4 separate regions of the Homo sapiens genome follow, and regions 1, 2 and 4 are each linked to region 3. The links are contacts of gene promoters, found by promoter capture Hi-C in human tissues and cell types (Jung and others, 2019). All regions are on one chromosome and are shown on one strand. The core of a region is centred on a gene start or on the middle of the fragment in contact, and the rest is flanking DNA. Distances in the headings are between cores, read along the strand shown. Region 1 overlaps CNR2 (cannabinoid receptor 2). Region 2 has its middle 37 kb from the start of GRHL3. Region 3 holds the start of IL22RA1 (interleukin 22 receptor subunit alpha 1). Region 4 overlaps LOC124903877 (a long non-coding RNA gene).

Region 1 (3,816 bases), core at 1,152-3,651, 240 kb after region 3:
GCCACACTTAACCTTGTCTCTCTTTGGCATGTAGTCAACTGAAGCTTGATTCTGTGAAGTAGGCACCTTTTCCACACAGCCAGAGCTGGGGGATTGGAGTCTTAGGCATCTCTGGTACACTGGGGTGCACGTCTCAGGTGGAGGAAGATTTAGGGCACAAGACAGGCCCCAGATCCCCTCCCAATGGCACCCATGCCACCTGCTTTGAGGGGTTGCATGTTCCTGCCACCCTCTTGGATACTAAGTGGTTCCAAGCTTAACTGTAGACCTTCCCTTCAAATCTAAAATCGGCAAAAAGTCACTTAAAATAAGGGACTTCTGTAATAAAGGTTGCCTACAATTAAAAAAAGAAAGAGTTACTGAGCAGTGACCATGGGTGAGGCAGGTGCACTTAAGATACGGGAGTGAACAAAACAAATAATAAGCCTTAACTCCCTTGGAGCGACCATTCTAGTGTCCTATTACTCAAATCAGTCTCCCCCAGCATTCGAGGATCAGAGATTTTAAGGACAATTTGGTTGGTAGCTGGAAACGTGGCTCGGTAAAATGGTCCAAGGTGGGAAGGATAAAAATGAGATTAGGGAGGCCAGGCACGGTGGCACATGCCTGTAATCTCAGCACTTTGGGAGGCCAAGGCGGGCGGTTCACCTGAGGTTGGGAGTTCAAGACCAGCCTGATCAACATGGAGAAACCCCATTTCTACTAAAAATACAAACTTGGCCAGGCGTGGTGGCACATGCCTGTAATCCCAGCTACTTGGGAGGCTGAGGCAAGAGAATTGCTTGAACCTGGGAGGCGGAGGTTTCAGTGAGCCGAGATTGCACCATTGCACCCTAGCCTGGGCAACAAGAGTGAAACTGTCTCAAAAAAAAAAAAAAAAAAAAAGAGATCAGGGAAGAGATGGTTGCCCAGAAGTATAAGAGAGACCCCATGCCCCTCCGTCTATAAGCCTCTAGGGGTTCACCTTGCCTGCCGCCTAGACAGAGCCGATTCATCAAGACAGGAGAATTGCAATAGAGAAAGAGTAATTTATGCAGAGCTGGCTGTGCGGGAGACCGGAATTTTATTATTACTCAAATCAGTCTCCACCAGCATTCAAGGATCAGAGTTTTTAAGGACAGTTTGTTTGGTTGCGGGGAGCCAGTGAGCCAGGAGTGCTGATTGGCCAGGGATGAAATCACAGGGGGTCGAAGCTGTCCTCTTGCGCTGAGTCAGTTCCTGGGTGGGGGCCACAAGATCACATGAGCCAGTTTATGGATTTGGGTGGTGCCAGCTGATCCATCAAGTGCAGGGTCTGCAAAGTATCTCAAGCACTGATCGCAGGAGCAGTTTAGGGAGGGTCAGAATCTTGTAGCCTCCAGCTGCATGACTCCTAAACCTTCCTTCCTTTCTTTCTTTCTTTTCTTTCTTTCTTTCCTTTCTTTCTTTCTTTCCTTTCTTTCTCTTTCCTTTCTTTCTCTTTCTTTCTCTTTCTTTCTTTCTCTTTCTTTCTTTCTCTTTCTTTCTTTCTCTCTCTCTCTTTCCTTCCTTCCCTCTTTCTTTCTTTTCTTTCTTTTTTTTCTTTTCTTTCTTTCTTTCTGACAGAGACCCCTCTGTCGCCCAGGCTGGAGTGCAGTGACGCAATCTCAGCTCACTGCACCCTCCACCTTCCAGGTTCAAGTGATTCTTCTGCCTCCCCCTCTCGAGTAGCTGGTATTACAGCATGCACCACCACACCTGGCTAACTTTTGTATTTTTAGTGGAGGCGGAGTTTCAGCATGTTGGCCAGGCTGGTCTTACCTCCTGACCGCAAGTGATCCACCCGCCTCAGCCTCCCAAAGTGCTGGGATTACAGGCGTGAACTACCACACCAGACCCTAAACCATAATTTCTAATCTTGTGCCTAATATTAGTCCTACAAAGGCAATCTAGTCCCCAGCCAAGAAGGAGGTGTACTTTGGGAAAGGGCTGTTATTGTCTTAGTTTTAAACTAAGTTTCTCCCAAAGTTAGTTCAGCCCAGGAATGAACAAGGACACCTTGGAGGTTAGAAGCAAGATGGAGTCAGTTAAGTTAGATCTCTTTCACAGTCTCAGTCATAATTTTGCAAAGGTGGTTTCACATCTAGGCTGCCCAACTTCTGTGGTCAGGGTCTGGCACCAGATATATGAGTCTGAATTCTGACTCTGCCATTTACAAACTTTGTGACCTCGGCAAATCCAGTCTAGCTGAGCCTCTGGTTCCTCATAGATAAGATCGTGAAAATGAGACAGTCTATCTCCAAGGGCAGTTTGGAGGATAAAGGAGACAGCGCATTTCTTTGTGGTAACATTTAAAATCTACTCTTTTAGCAATTTTGATACGTGTATCATAATATCACATTGTATTCCATAAATATATACAATTATTATTTGTCCATCAAAAATAGAATGAAAACATTTAAAAATAATATATAGTACGGGCCAGGTGTGGTGGCTCACGCCTGTTATCCCAGCACTTTGGTAGGTGGAGGTGGTTGGATCACCTGAGGTCAGGAGTTGGAGACCAGCCTGGCCAACATGGTGAAACCCCGTCTCTACTAAAAATACAAAAATTAGCTGGGCATGGTGGTGCACATCTGTAATCCCAGCTACTCAGGAGGCTGAGGCAGGAAAATCACTTGAACCTGGGAGGCGGAGCTTGCAGTGAGCCAAGATCGTGCCACTGCACTCCAGCCTGGGCAGCAGAGTGAGACTTTGTCTCAAAAAAAAAAAAAAAAAAAAAAAAAAAAATTGGCCAGGCGTGGTGGCTCAAGCCTGAATCCCAGCACTTTGGGAGGCTGAGGCAGGCGGATCACAAGGTCAGGGGATCGAGACCATCCTGGTTAACTCGGTGAAACCCCGTCTCTACTAAAAATGCAAAAAATTAGCCGGGCGTGGTGGTGGGCGCCTGTAGTCCCAGCTGCTTGGGAGGCTGAGGCAGGAGAATGGTGTGAACCTGGAAGGCGGAGCTTGCAGTGAGCTGAGATCATACCACTGCACTCCAGCCTGGGCAACAGAACAAGACTCCATCTCAAAAAAAAAAAAAAAAAAAAAAAAGCCGGGCGCGGTGGCTCACGCCTGTAATCCCAGCACTTTGGGAGGCTGAGGCGGGCGGATCACAAGGTCAGGAGATCAAGACCATCCTGGCTAACATGGTGAAACCCTGTGTCTACTAAAAATACAAAAAAATAATAAAAAAATAGCTAGGCATGGTGGCGGGTGCCTGTAGTCCCAGCTACTTGGGAGGCTGAGGCAGGAGAATGGCGTGAACCCAGGAGGCGGAGCTTGCAGTGAGCCAAGATCGCACCACTGCACTCCAGCCTGGGTGACAGAGTGAGACTCCATCTCAAAAACAAACAAAAAATAAAAATAAAAATAAATATATAGTATGGATTTGAACAACAACAGAAAAGGACACAGTGCTTGTAAAAGGCCTTTCACAGTGCCTGCCACAAAGGAAGCACTCAGGAGAGAGTGGCAAATTTATTTTCTTCACATAGTTAAACCACAACAACATATTGCAACAGTTTGCATGCTGAAGCAGAGATAAGAATCCAGCTGCCTTCTCATAAACCAGACAATTAAAGAGATTTGCCACAAAAAGTTATTTTCATTTAAAAATATGTTACTTCAGGGCGGGCGTGGTGGCTCATGCCTGTAATCCCAGCACTTTGGGAGGCTAAGGCGGGTGGATCACAAGGTCAGGAGTTCAAGACCAGCCTGGCCAACATAGTGAAACCCTGTCTCTACTAAAAACACAAAAATTAGCCAGGTGTGGTGGTCCCAGCTACTCAGGAGGCTGAGGTGGAAGAATTGCTT
Region 2 (3,958 bases), core at 1,142-3,641, 140 kb before region 3:
ACTCATTGTGAAGGAGAAAGCATTAAAAAAGAGCATAATCCTGATTCTGAGGTGACTGGGAAGGCAATTCCGGGATTCCAGCATCCTTTCCCAACCCGGTTCCTCCTTGGATGTGGTCCCATCTGATATAGCTTTCCCAGAATGAATCACAACGCAAAACTGTCCAGATGCATGTAGATAAGTAAATAAATAAACCCAACAAGTGGGCCAATTCCTTCTTCCTGGAGGAAGTAGCTCAGTAGAGTCCACAGATAACAAAACAGAGTGTGTCTTAAGATTTTAATTAATCACATTGTTGATTTTCCCTGGGTTATTGAATAAGGTCCACTCGGAAATAATGAAGACACCAATGTGCCTGGGCTCCTGGGCGAGTAAAGAGAAGGCAGCATTTGGCAATGCCTGGTGAAGGCCTAAGTGAGGTGCGGGTCATTCACTGTGATTTGCTCCACATTTATTTACAAGCCCAGCAAGCTGTCCCTACTGTCCCAAGGTGAGCAACCATAGCTTGACTTCCTGGGCTAGAGCAGGTGGCATCTTTTTTGAGGAGGCCCCAAATGGCATCCCCCATACTCCCTGATATGATGACTATGACTGGGGCCTCCAAGTAGTAGGTGAGGCGTGGGCACCCACCTGTCTCTGGGTAACCACACCTACCTGAGTAAGCATTGGGTAACCAGGCATGAGGCACCCATCTGCATGGGCAATTTGTACAATTACCCCGGGTGCCCAGGTGAATCAATGTTTACTTGCTGCAAAGCTGGGGAACCTCAACCTCGCCTGTGGTCCAGGGACCTCCAGGGCAGCAGCATGGGAGGAATGTCTGGTCCAAACGGCTAAGGCATCCCTGGCCCAGTTTCAGGTACAGACTCCAGCAGACTCTCCAGTATCCATTCAGGGTTGAGAATGTTGAGGAACCTGGAGATATTTGAAAAATAACTCCAGAAACAAATGAAGCGATTTTTAAAAACAGGGCACAGTGAGGTGAATTAACTCGCCCCAGGTCACACAGTGAATACACAGCAGAGTCAGAACTTGAACCAGGCACAGGCAGACTCCAGCATCCCCTTCTACTCTTGGGTTAGTATACTTATATCTACTGTTGCATATGTATGGAATAGAAGGTCTGGAAGCATGTACATCAAAGTGATTTTTCTTTACTAGTGAGATTATTGGGGAGGGAGGGGGGCTTTCACTTTCTATTCTTCACAATCATGTATTATTTCTTCTTTTCATAACCTGCATTAATTTTATATTTAGGAAAAAGTGAAAAGATGTGGTTTTGATCTGGTGCTCCAAATTGATAATGTTTATCAAAGGCTTTAAAAATATCCTAAGGGAATAATCACATGTAGTCAAGAGGATACAAGACTGTTTCTGGAATCACTGATCTTCAACCCACTGCTTTATCACCTGACACAGTGCAGCACCTGTTGCTGGAACATTCCACAGCCTTTAGGAGTGGAGTTTTGAAGAACATGCAATGACATGAGAAAATGTTAATGACATAGAGTTAAATATAGAAAGGAGGGTATGAAATTGTATACAGAGTATGATGCCATTGGTGTTTTTAAACAATTCCAGGCTGGGTACAGTGGTTCACGACTGTAATCCCAACACTTTGGGAGGCCAAGGTGGGGGAATAGCTTGAGCCCAGGAGTTTCAGACCAGCCTGGGCAACAAAGTGAGACCCCCCCCATCTCCACAAAAAAATGAAAAAATTAGCCGGGCATGGTGGTGTGTGCCTATGGTCCCAGCTACTCAGTAGTCTGAGGCAGGAGGATTGCTTGAACCTAAGGGGTTGAGGCTGCAGTGAGCCAAAATCATGCCACTGCACTCCTGCCCAGGTGACAGAGTGAGACTGTGGAAAAAAAAAATTAAAAAAAAATTTTTAATCCTATATAGAAATACTAGAAAAATGCACCAAATATTAATAACAGTTATCTTTGGATGTCAGGGTTATGGTAACTTTAAGCTTCTTTCTACTTTTCTTCATTTTCTATGATAATTGTATGTAACTTTTCTACTCAGATAGAACAATAACAAAACAACTAATGTTTACTAGTGTTTTCTGTGCTAGGTATGTTACATGTTCCATCTTATTTAATCTTCACCACAAACTTATGAGTAGATGTGAGGGAATGAAGACTTAGAAATGGGAAGTAATTTGTCCATTGTCACACAGCTGGTATGTGGTGAGGCTGGGGTCTGAACCCAGACAATCTAACTGCAGAGGCCACTCTCAACCACTATAGATGCTATTTTTCTTTAAAATAAAGATAGTACTTCAAGGGCTGGCTCCTGTTCATCTTGCCCAGTAGGCACAATGGAGACCTGAAGCACAGCCACCATGGATCGTTGGGCAGGCTGTGCTCTGCTTGCTAAGCGGTGAGTCTTGGCAAGGAACTGTATCCATCTGGAGAAAGAGGTGCTTTTTCATAAAAATGTGAATTAAAACCACAGTGAGCTGCTACTACATACCTACCAGAAACATTAAAAAGATGGACAATACCAGCCAGGTGTGGTAGCTCATGCCTGTAGTCCCAGCACTTTGGGAGGCTGAAGTGGGGTGGATCATTTGAGCTCAGAAGTTCGAGACCAGCCTGGGCAATATAGTGAAACCCCGTCTCTGCAAAAAATACAAAAATTTAGCCCAGCATGGCCACACATGCCTGTAGACCCAGCTACTTGGGAGGCTGAGGTGGGAGGATCACTTGAGCTTGGGAGGTGGAGGTTGCAGTGAGCTGAAATCGTGCCACTGCACTCCAGCCTGGGTGACAGAGCAAGACTCTGTCTCAAAAATAAAATAAAATAAAATAAAATTAGACCAAATGTTGATGAGGCTGTGGAGCAACTGGAACTCTCATTCATTGTTGGTGACAAAGTGATACATTGTTGGTGGTGCAATAAAATGGTACCACCACCTTGGAAAAAGATCTGTCATTTTTTTGTAAAATAAAACATACACCTACCCTGTGACCCAGTCGTTGTACTCCTAAGTATTTACTCAAAAGAAATGAAAACACAAATTCACAAAAAGCCTTGTAGAAGAGTGCACATAGCACCTTTCTCATAATAGCCCCAAATTGTCAACAGCCCGGGTGTCCATCAATAGGAAAATGGACAAACGAACCGCAGTATAGGCCTACAAAAGAATACTCCCCATTAATAAAAAGGAATGAATTAATGATATGCAGGAACAACATGGATGAATCTCAAAACACTACATTGAATGAAAAAAGCCTTACATGAGAGATTATATAAGGTATCATTCCATTTATATGAATTTTCAGGACAGGCAAAACCAATCTACTGTGGAAAAATATTGGTACAGTGGGTTGCCTAGTGTGCTGGAGGGGAGAGTATTGACTGGGAAGGGGCATGAGGGAACTTCCTGGAGTGAGGGGAATATTCTTTATTTTGAGAGGGTTTGGGATCACAGGTGTATGCATTTATGAAAACTCAATAAAAAGCACTTGTGCATTTCATCATATATAAATTTTACATCAAAAGGATAAAAGTTGTGAGCAAATATATGTGCATGCTGAAGTAGTTAAGGAAATTGTATTGATGTCTGCAATTTACTTTAAAATTTATAATGAAGTCGAAGCATTAATGAATGTCTAGAGGGATGGCTTTATGTGAAAGAAAAGCAAGTACAGTACAACATTCATAGAATTTAAATGGTGAGTTTAAGGATATTCACTATAAAATGCTTTCAACTTTTGCTGTGATGTTTGAAAACTTTCATAATAAAACATTGAAAAACAGGCTTCCTGTACACAAACATAATTATGAAAGAAGCCAGGCACAAAAGGACACACGATGTGTGATTTCATTTAGCTAAAGGACAAAATGAACTGATGAGATTAGAAGTCAGGATAATGGTCAGGACAGGGGAGTGAGGGGGTGTGTGTTACTGGGAAAGTTCTGCTTTTGCACCTAGGTATGGATGGCGGTG
Region 3 (3,814 bases), core at 323-2,822:
CATTCAGTAGCACAGAAACCTCTCCAGTCTTTCAGACCAAGGGACTTTAATGTAAAGGAGCTCGTCACCCAGAGGATGAAGGAGCTGGGACACTAATCAGGACAGACAGTTCAGAGATTTCCCCAAAGCAGGAAGCTGTGCCATCCCACCAACTGAAAGGAAAGATGAGGGGAGAAGGTGTTGCCAGAGCCAGGAGCTGGCCTCCAAACAGGAACAAGAAAGACATAAGGGGTTGCCTGGCTGATGGACTGTCCAGAGGGAGCCAGAACTGCAGAGGGATATGGCCATTGCTGGGGAAGCCACTCAAACAGAAAACGAGGGGAGAAATGCTCTGATCTCTGCCTCCCCAGTCTTCCCCCAGGGGCTAAACCTATCAGAAAGCAGTTGATAAAGGAGTCTAGAAAATGTAGTTTCCTGCAGTTTCAGGAAATGACTGGCATGGGCCCTACCTTAATTCCTCCAAAGCACAGCTTAGATTTGGCTGTTTTGTCAAACAAACTTTAGCAATCAGGGCTGATAACAATTACAATTCAGGAAAGAAAAACTTAAACACCGATCTCAGCATATCACAGCCCATTACACCCAACCCGTTGGCAGGATCCCTGCTAAAATTTCGCTTGCCTTTGTGTGCTTGGGGCCAGGCAAACTCTCCCCAGGGGCAGGACCCTCCAATCGTGTCCACCCTGACCAGAGTCCAGGCCCCAGGGCCCTTCTACCTTCTCCAGGCCCTGCAGGAAGGAGAAAACCATTTCCTAAACACCTGTCCCTTCATTCACACGAAGCTCATGTGCAGATCCTGCCCTACGTGGCAAAATGATGGGAGAGCAGCCTGAATCTTCATCGTCCCGAACCAAAGCCCCATTCATGAAGTTCAGCCCCATCTCTAGCACAGCAGAAAGAATCACTGAAGTTTGAGTTCCATTTTTTTTCTAAACTTTTGCAGATCCTAGACCCAAAGGCTCAAGGTAAGAGCGGCTGGGCTTCCTCACCCCCAACGGCCTCTCTAGGGGAGAGCTGTTCCCAAGCCCACCCCAAGCGTGGGGACCTGCCTTGATATGGAGGATCAAGGAGGAGCATCGGGTGCCCTCAATCTCCTCCTGCCAGAAAAGCAAAGGAGTCACAGCTTTTCCTTTGCTGCAAGAAACATTCTGGGACCTTTTTTTTCCCCCTCTGTTGTCCAGTTATTTTCATCAGGGTAAATCCCCTAGGAATAGAATTATTAAAGCAAAAGATATGTATGTGGTGTAGGCTTTTGATCCACAGTGCCAAATTGCTTTTTGATAAGGCTGCATATCGTGGATTATTCTTGCCTTTTCTGCCCCTCAGCTCCTTGATAAACCACTTGGGATGAATCAGCCACCGGACCAGATAAACAAGCCAGCCTGTTACTATTGCTGTTTTCTGCAAGTCGGAAGGGAACTCCCTTAGATCCCGCCCAGAACCTGGAATTCCAGAGCACACAGGGCCAGGACACCTTTGTACCCCTGCTCCCCACCGGCACAGGTCCCACCCACCCCCTTCTCCCCGCCCCATGCCCGGGTGGAGCCAGCTGCCAGGGCGCCAAGACTCCCAGCCCTCTCTCTGTGCACGGCAGAGTAGAGGCCAAGGGAGGGCTCTGTGCCAGCCCCGATGAGGACGCTGCTGACCATCTTGACTGTGGGATCCCTGGCTGGTGAGTGCCCATCTACCCTGTGGTCAGACCTCCCTTATCCCAGGGGCCAACGATCAGGGTCATCTCCCCAGCACCCTCCCCAGCCCGAGCATAGCCAGTTTCAGTTTCTCCCCTGCTAGGGCTGAGCAGGGTGCCGGGTGTTCACGGAGAAGCAAATGCCCAGCTTAGTTTGCTGGGGGCATGAGAGGGTGCCTCAGACCCTGGGTTCTTCCAGGGACCCAAAGGACCCTCGGGTCTTGAGGGATATAGCCAGCTGTCTGAACTGGGGGTGCTGGATCGCTGCACCTCAGTGAATGGAGAATTGGCCTGGAGGAGGCAGACATCCTTCGGTCCCTCAAACGGTGTCGGCACAGTTTGTACCATCCTTCCTCTGCCTCTCACTTGGCACTGGCCTGACAGGGGAGGAGGAGGAAGGACCGGGGGAAACGAAGCTTGAGTTCACTATTGCCTCCCTCCATGCCCCTGCAGGGCCTCTTTGGCCCCTTTTGTTATCATAGATCTGAAAGAGCATTTTCTCCTAGAGTGGCCAGGTCTGCTACATTAATAGGTCTTAAGACACAGGACTCATTTGGAAACAGGTCTTAAGGGCATAGTGTTCAAAGCCAATAAAGTGAGCGGAGTGGGGGGCTCATCATTATGGAGAACGTTACATGAGACCCTAGACTCTCTCTCTGCTCTCCTGGTGCATTGCATGAAATTCAGGGAACTTCCTTAGGAAGTCAAAGCATAGTCCTGATTGAGGATGGCGAGCAGGTATGGCCTCGGCCAGGCCCTCCTTGCTCAAGTGCAGGACGAGGCCCACGAAAAGGCAGAGCTTCCCACCTTCTCTGCCACTGTCCCGCCAGGGCTGCCTGCGTCTCCAGGGCTTCCAGCTCTGTGGGACCCCCTCCAGTCTGCTTCCCAGCATCAAGCTGGGCGTTCCAGGAAGATGTGAGGCACCCCCTTGAGGCACCAAGACACGTCCCTTTAGACCCTCAGCCATACTGGTTAGAAATCCTAGAGGCTCCCAGCCCTTTGAGATGGGGGACCCCAAGAAATAGCCCTTAGGAGATTGTCAAGGGTCAGCTGCCTCGCGCTGCACACACCGGGCCCTCACCCCCCCAATCTTAGGCTGACTCCAGAGCATGTGGAATTGTTTCTTGTTTGTGTATTTTTCCTTAGCTTCCCAGCTGGTTGACAGAACATTGTTTTTCCACATGAATGTGAAAAAACAAGTTGCCTTTTATAAATCCGCCAGGCTGCCAGGCTCCACACAACACATGTCTCCCCAGATTTCACAATATAGACTTTCACCCGGGAAGTGCCGAAGCAACACAGGCTGAGGAATGGATGATAGATTTGAGGAGGAAAAGGAGCGAGGAGGGTGGGAGAAGAGGGGGAGATCTTGTTAGACCCTGACATCCCTAAAAGACAGGAGTGGGCCTAGGTTCACTTACCCCACTTCAGGAAGCTAACTGCAGTTCCCTCCTGAAAAGTGGTGCCAACCTCCACGTAGCCCAGGGTCCTTTGCCTTGGCAACATGCCCCCACCTCAGCCACCAGCCTCCTTGCAACCCAGATGGGCCCTCTATTTCCCACCCAGAACACTGACCTCAACCAGCAACCGTTCCCGCTGCAGACTCTACCCCAAGCCTTGATGGAGCCTGGCTTCTCAAAGCCCACCCTCACCCTTCTGCCCTGACCCACCACCCAACCAGAAGCCACTGTTCAGGTCTGACCTTGACTGGACTCCTTTCCTCAACTTTAGACTCAGCCCTGAATCCAGGACCCCTCCCTCCAGAACTGACCCCAATTCCACCCAGCCTCACATCCAAACAAGATGTCAGCTACATCCTAAGGCTCCACGGCACAGCCGTCACCTTGCGTAGAGGCAGTAGACCCCTCCCCGCGCCATCCCTAAGGCCCCATTCTGGGGACTCCAGGAAGCCTGAAGACATTTTGCAGCTGCTGGGCCAGAACCCAAATTCAGAGAGGAGGGCAGCCTTCGAGGTTGGCCAGAGGATGTGCAGCGGGGTCGGACCATTCTTCCGTCCCCATCGGTCCTCGCCAAGCCTGAGGACCCCTCTTGTGTGTAGAGTTGGAGTAGGGGAATCAATAACTGTCTGCTCCCTCACACCTTGGGCCCACTGGCAGTCGTAGACGT
Region 4 (4,040 bases), core at 91-2,590, 190 kb after region 3:
GGAGTACAGTGGCATGATCTCAACTCACTGCAACCTCCACTTCTCAGGTTCAAGTGATTGTCCTGCCTCAGCCTCCTGAGTAGCTAGGATTACAGGCATGTGCCACCACGCCCAGCTAATTTTTGTATTTTTAGTAGAGACGACGTTTCTCCATATTGGCCAGGCTGGTCTTGAACGCCTGGGCCTCATGTGATCCACCCACCTTGGCCTCCCAAAGTGCTGGGATTACAGGTGTGAGCCACCACGCCCGCCCCTTTTTTCACTTTTTAAACTCAGGATATTGTGAGCATGTTTCCATGTATATATACATTCATTGTTAGCCATATTTTATGTTATGACCATCTTTGATTAATTTACTATTCTCCACTGTTATTTCCAATTTTTTGCTATTATATGCTGAGTTGGATGTCCCTATAAATAAATCTTCATTTCTGTAAATAAATTTCCTTTAAATAAATTCTTAGGGGTGAAAGTACTAGGTCACAAGGTAAATATACAGGTAAGACTTTTGATACATATTACCAAATACTTTCCAGAAATTATGTATCCGTGTATGCCCCCACCATCAGGCTAAAAGTCAGTCCCAGGCTTCTGGCTTTGAGGATACTGTTCGCTGTCCTTATTGTTTATAGCTGCTTTCCTGACATTGGATCTGTAAGAGGAGTTGGTGAATTTACGTTGGTGAATTTCTTTGTTTTTTTGAGACGGAGTTTCACTCTTGTTGCCCAGGCTGGAGTGCAATGGCACAATCTCGGCTCACTGCAACCTCTACCTCCTGGGTTCAAGCGATTCTCCTGCCTCAGCCTCCCAAGTAGCTGGGATTACAGGCATGTGCCATGACGCCCAGCATATTTTTTGTATTTAGTAGAGACAGGATTTCACCATGTTAGTCGGGCTGGTCTTGATCTCCTGACCTCAGGTGACCCACCCACCTCGGCCTCCTAAAGTGTTGGGATTATAGGCATGAGCCACCTCGCCTGGCGGTGAATTTCTTTTGACAGGAAATAGTCAAAAGAATTTTAAAAGGTTTTTTTAAAGATCACGTGTTACGTATGGCCTTTGTACAAAGTATGCCTGTGGGACAGCTTTTTCTGGGGAACATGGAGCTAATGAGGTCCACTTATTCGTCACAGCCTCCATAGCTGTCAATTTGGCAGTTAATGAGCTACAAACGTCTGGAATTTCCACTGAGTCAGGCAAGCCAGTGTTTGTTCTCTGGCTGATGGCTTGGGTTTGGAAAGAGACTATGAGTCAAGCTTCCATGGCCCGAGAGCCTGGATTTTGCCACAGCAGAAAAAAAAAAGAACAGATTGACATAGTCTTAACACATGATTAAACTGCTAGGTGACACCGTGGCATGACTTCCACTCTTGGGTAGAGCAGGCAACAAAGGAGTCGCCATTCGCCCACAGTTTCCAAGGCAAAAGGAGGTGAAGTAACTTGCTCAAGTTCAGTCTGATCTCTTGATTCCAGTTCACCGTGATTGAATATTTATACCATCTCCTTGCCTTTGACTGTTATATCTTTATTTTGTTTTGTTTTAACTGTTACTTATGCAATTCAAAGGTATGATACTTTGCATATTACAAATGTGTTGCACATTAAATAATAACAATAAGTATCGAGCACTCTACTATGAGCAAGGTACACTGTCCTAAGCAATTTAAAAAAAAAATTTTTTTTTTTTAAATAGGATCTCACTCTGTCACCCAGGTTGGAGTGCAGTGGTGAGATCACGGCTCACTGCAGCATTAACCTCCTGGGCTCAAGCAATCCTCCTGCCTCAGCCTCCCGAGTAGCTGGGACAACAGGTGTATGCCACCGTGCCCGGCTAATTTTTGTATTTTCTGTAGAGACAGGGTTTCGTCATGTTGCCCAGGCTGGTCTTGAACTCCTAGGCTCTAGTGATCCACCTGCCTCAGCCCCTCAAAGTGCTGGGATTACAGGCATGAGCCATTGAATCGGCCTGTCCTAAACAATTGATACGCATTCTTATTTAATTCTCATCACAACCTACTGAGGTCACTAGTAGTACTGCCTCATTAAATGGATGAGTAAACTGAGATTCAAAGAGGTAGGCTAAGTCATTTGCCCAAAGTCACATACCTCGAACTTGAACCTGGGTCAGCCTGATGCCAAAACCTGCTCTTAGCCACTCTGCTACACCGATCTAGTCTTCAGGGTCCATATTGCTAGGAAGCGCTCGGAATACAGTATGCTCTAAATGGGAGGTAGCCACCCTTCTGGTTCCATGCTATCATTGGCCAGTAAAATTGCACGTATATTCTCATTGCCGATTAGAAAAAAATAAGAAAAAAAAACTAGAGTATTTATAGATCCTCATGTGTTTTGTTTCTTTGATTGATTGTTTGTTTGTTTGTTTGTGAGACAGGGTTTCACTCCTATTACCCAGGCTGGAGTGCAATGGTGCGATCTCGGCTCACTGCAACCTCTGCCTCCTGGGCTCAAGTGATCTGCCTGCCTCAGCCTCCCAAAGTGCTGGGATTTCAGGTGTGAGCCACCTGCCTGGCTAGAGTTATTTTCAAAGCCCACAAGTGTGGCCCCTGCAATGGCAGTCTTACAGCAAGATATTGTACTAAGAGGCAGAAGCTGAGGGAGCAATCAGCCTAAGGAGAAGCATTGCCCACTGTGAAGGAATTGCAGCCGAGAGAGCTCATGAAGAGAATTTGCTGAAGAACAAGTGCCATGAGAGAAAGAGGCAGCTTTAGCTATCTGTCAGGCCAGGGAAATGTCACAAGAGTTCTAGTCAAGTAGGAACTTTCTTACCGTCTTCTGCCCTTCTTCCTCCCTGATTACAACCCTTAACTATAGTTAAGGCCAGACATGGTGGCTCACACCTGTAATCCCAGAAATCTAGGAGGCCAAGGCAGGTGGATGACTTGAGGTCAGGAGTTCGAGACCACCCTGGCCAACATGGTGAAACCCCGTCTCTACTAAAAATACAAAAATTAGCCGGGCGTGGTGGTGCGCACCTGTAATTCCAGCCACTCTGGAGGCTGAGGCAGGAAAAAAAAATCACTTGAAACCAGGAGGCAAAGGTTTCAGTGAGCTAAGATTGTGCCACTGCTCTCCAGCCTGAGCAACAGAGTGAGACCCTGCTTTTTAAAAAAAACAAAAACAAAAAACAGGGCAGGCGTGGTAGCTCATGCCTGTAATCCCAGAACTTTGGGAGGCCGAGGTAGGTGGATCACTTGAGATCAGGAGTTCAAGACCAGCTTGGCCAACATGGTGAAACCCGGTCTCTACTAAAAATACAAAAATTAGCCAGGCCTGGTGGCGTGCACCTGTAATCCCAGCTACTCGGGAGGCTGAGGCAGGAGAACTGCTTGGACCCAGGAGGTGGAGGTTGCAGTGAGCCGAGATTGCACCACTGCACTCCATCCTGGGTGACAGAGTGAGACTATCTAAAAAAATTAAATAAATTAAAAACAAAAATTTTTTTTAATTGTGTTCACAGCCGCCGCCGCTCCACTGTCACTCTCCAAGGCCAGCGCCACCTCTCACTCACCGAGCTCCAGCCGAAGGAGAAGGGGGGTAAGTAAGGAGGTCTCTGTACCATGACTCGTACAAAGCAGTAAAGAACCCAGGAAGCAACTGGCTACGAAAGCCGCTCGCAAAAGTGCGCCCTCTACTGGAGGGGTGAAGAAACCTCATCGTTACAGGCCTGGTACTGTGACACTCGGTGATATTAGACATTATCAGAAGTCCACTGAACTTCTGATTCGCAAACTTCCCTTCTAGGGTCTGGTGCGAGAAATCGCTTAGCACTTTAAAACAGATCTGCGCTTTCAGAGCTCAGCTGTCGGTACTTTGCAGGAGGCAGGTGAGGATTATCTGGTTGGCCTTTTTGAAGACAACAACCTGTGTGCTATCCATGCCAAACGTGTAACAATTATGCCAAAAGACATGCAGCTAGCACGCCGCATACGTGGAGAACGTGCTTAAGAATCCACTATGATGGGAATCATTTCATTCTCAAAAAAAAAAAATTCTCTTCTTCCTGTTATTGGTAGTTCTGA

What was found. The method cuts DNA at HindIII sites, captures the fragments that hold promoters and counts their contacts. A contact is called where the count stands out against the background at its distance.
Region 1: a contact is called between a fragment that was not itself captured here and the fragment with the promoter of IL22RA1 in region 3, in 1 of the 25 tissues and cell types used here (mesenchymal stem cells).
Region 2: a fragment that was not itself captured here is called in contact with the fragment with the promoter of IL22RA1 in region 3 in 2 of the 25 tissues and cell types used here (adrenal gland and bladder).
Region 4: a fragment that was not itself captured here is called in contact with the fragment with the promoter of IL22RA1 in region 3 in 1 of the 25 tissues and cell types used here (IMR-90 fibroblasts).

The regions. Positions count from the first base shown.
Region 1 is chr1:23,897,574-23,901,389 of GRCh38, reverse strand. The region is part of intron 1 of CNR2 (cannabinoid receptor 2); the gene reads left to right. It also overlaps the pseudogene BTBD6P1. Among named protein-coding and RNA genes, the nearest start is that of CNR2, 14 kb to the left of the region's middle. The HindIII fragment of the contact is 4,502 bases long and covers 151-3,816 here.
Region 2 is chr1:24,280,207-24,284,164 of GRCh38, reverse strand. No RefSeq gene overlaps it. Among named protein-coding and RNA genes, the nearest start is that of GRHL3, 37 kb to the left of the region's middle. The HindIII fragment of the contact is 7,226 bases long and covers 1-3,958 here.
Region 3 is chr1:24,140,898-24,144,711 of GRCh38, reverse strand. It overlaps IL22RA1 (interleukin 22 receptor subunit alpha 1), which reads left to right and starts at 1,572. Exons shown (of 7, transcript NM_021258.4): 1 at 1,572-1,672. The coding sequence starts at 1,630. The HindIII fragment of the contact is 7,521 bases long and covers 1-3,814 here.
Region 4 is chr1:23,948,941-23,952,980 of GRCh38, reverse strand. The region is part of intron 3 of LOC124903877 (a long non-coding RNA gene); the gene reads left to right. It also overlaps the pseudogene H3P1. Among named protein-coding and RNA genes, the nearest start is that of PNRC2, 8.9 kb to the left of the region's middle. RefSeq lists a silencer at 3,319-3,539. The HindIII fragment of the contact is 5,689 bases long and covers 1-4,040 here.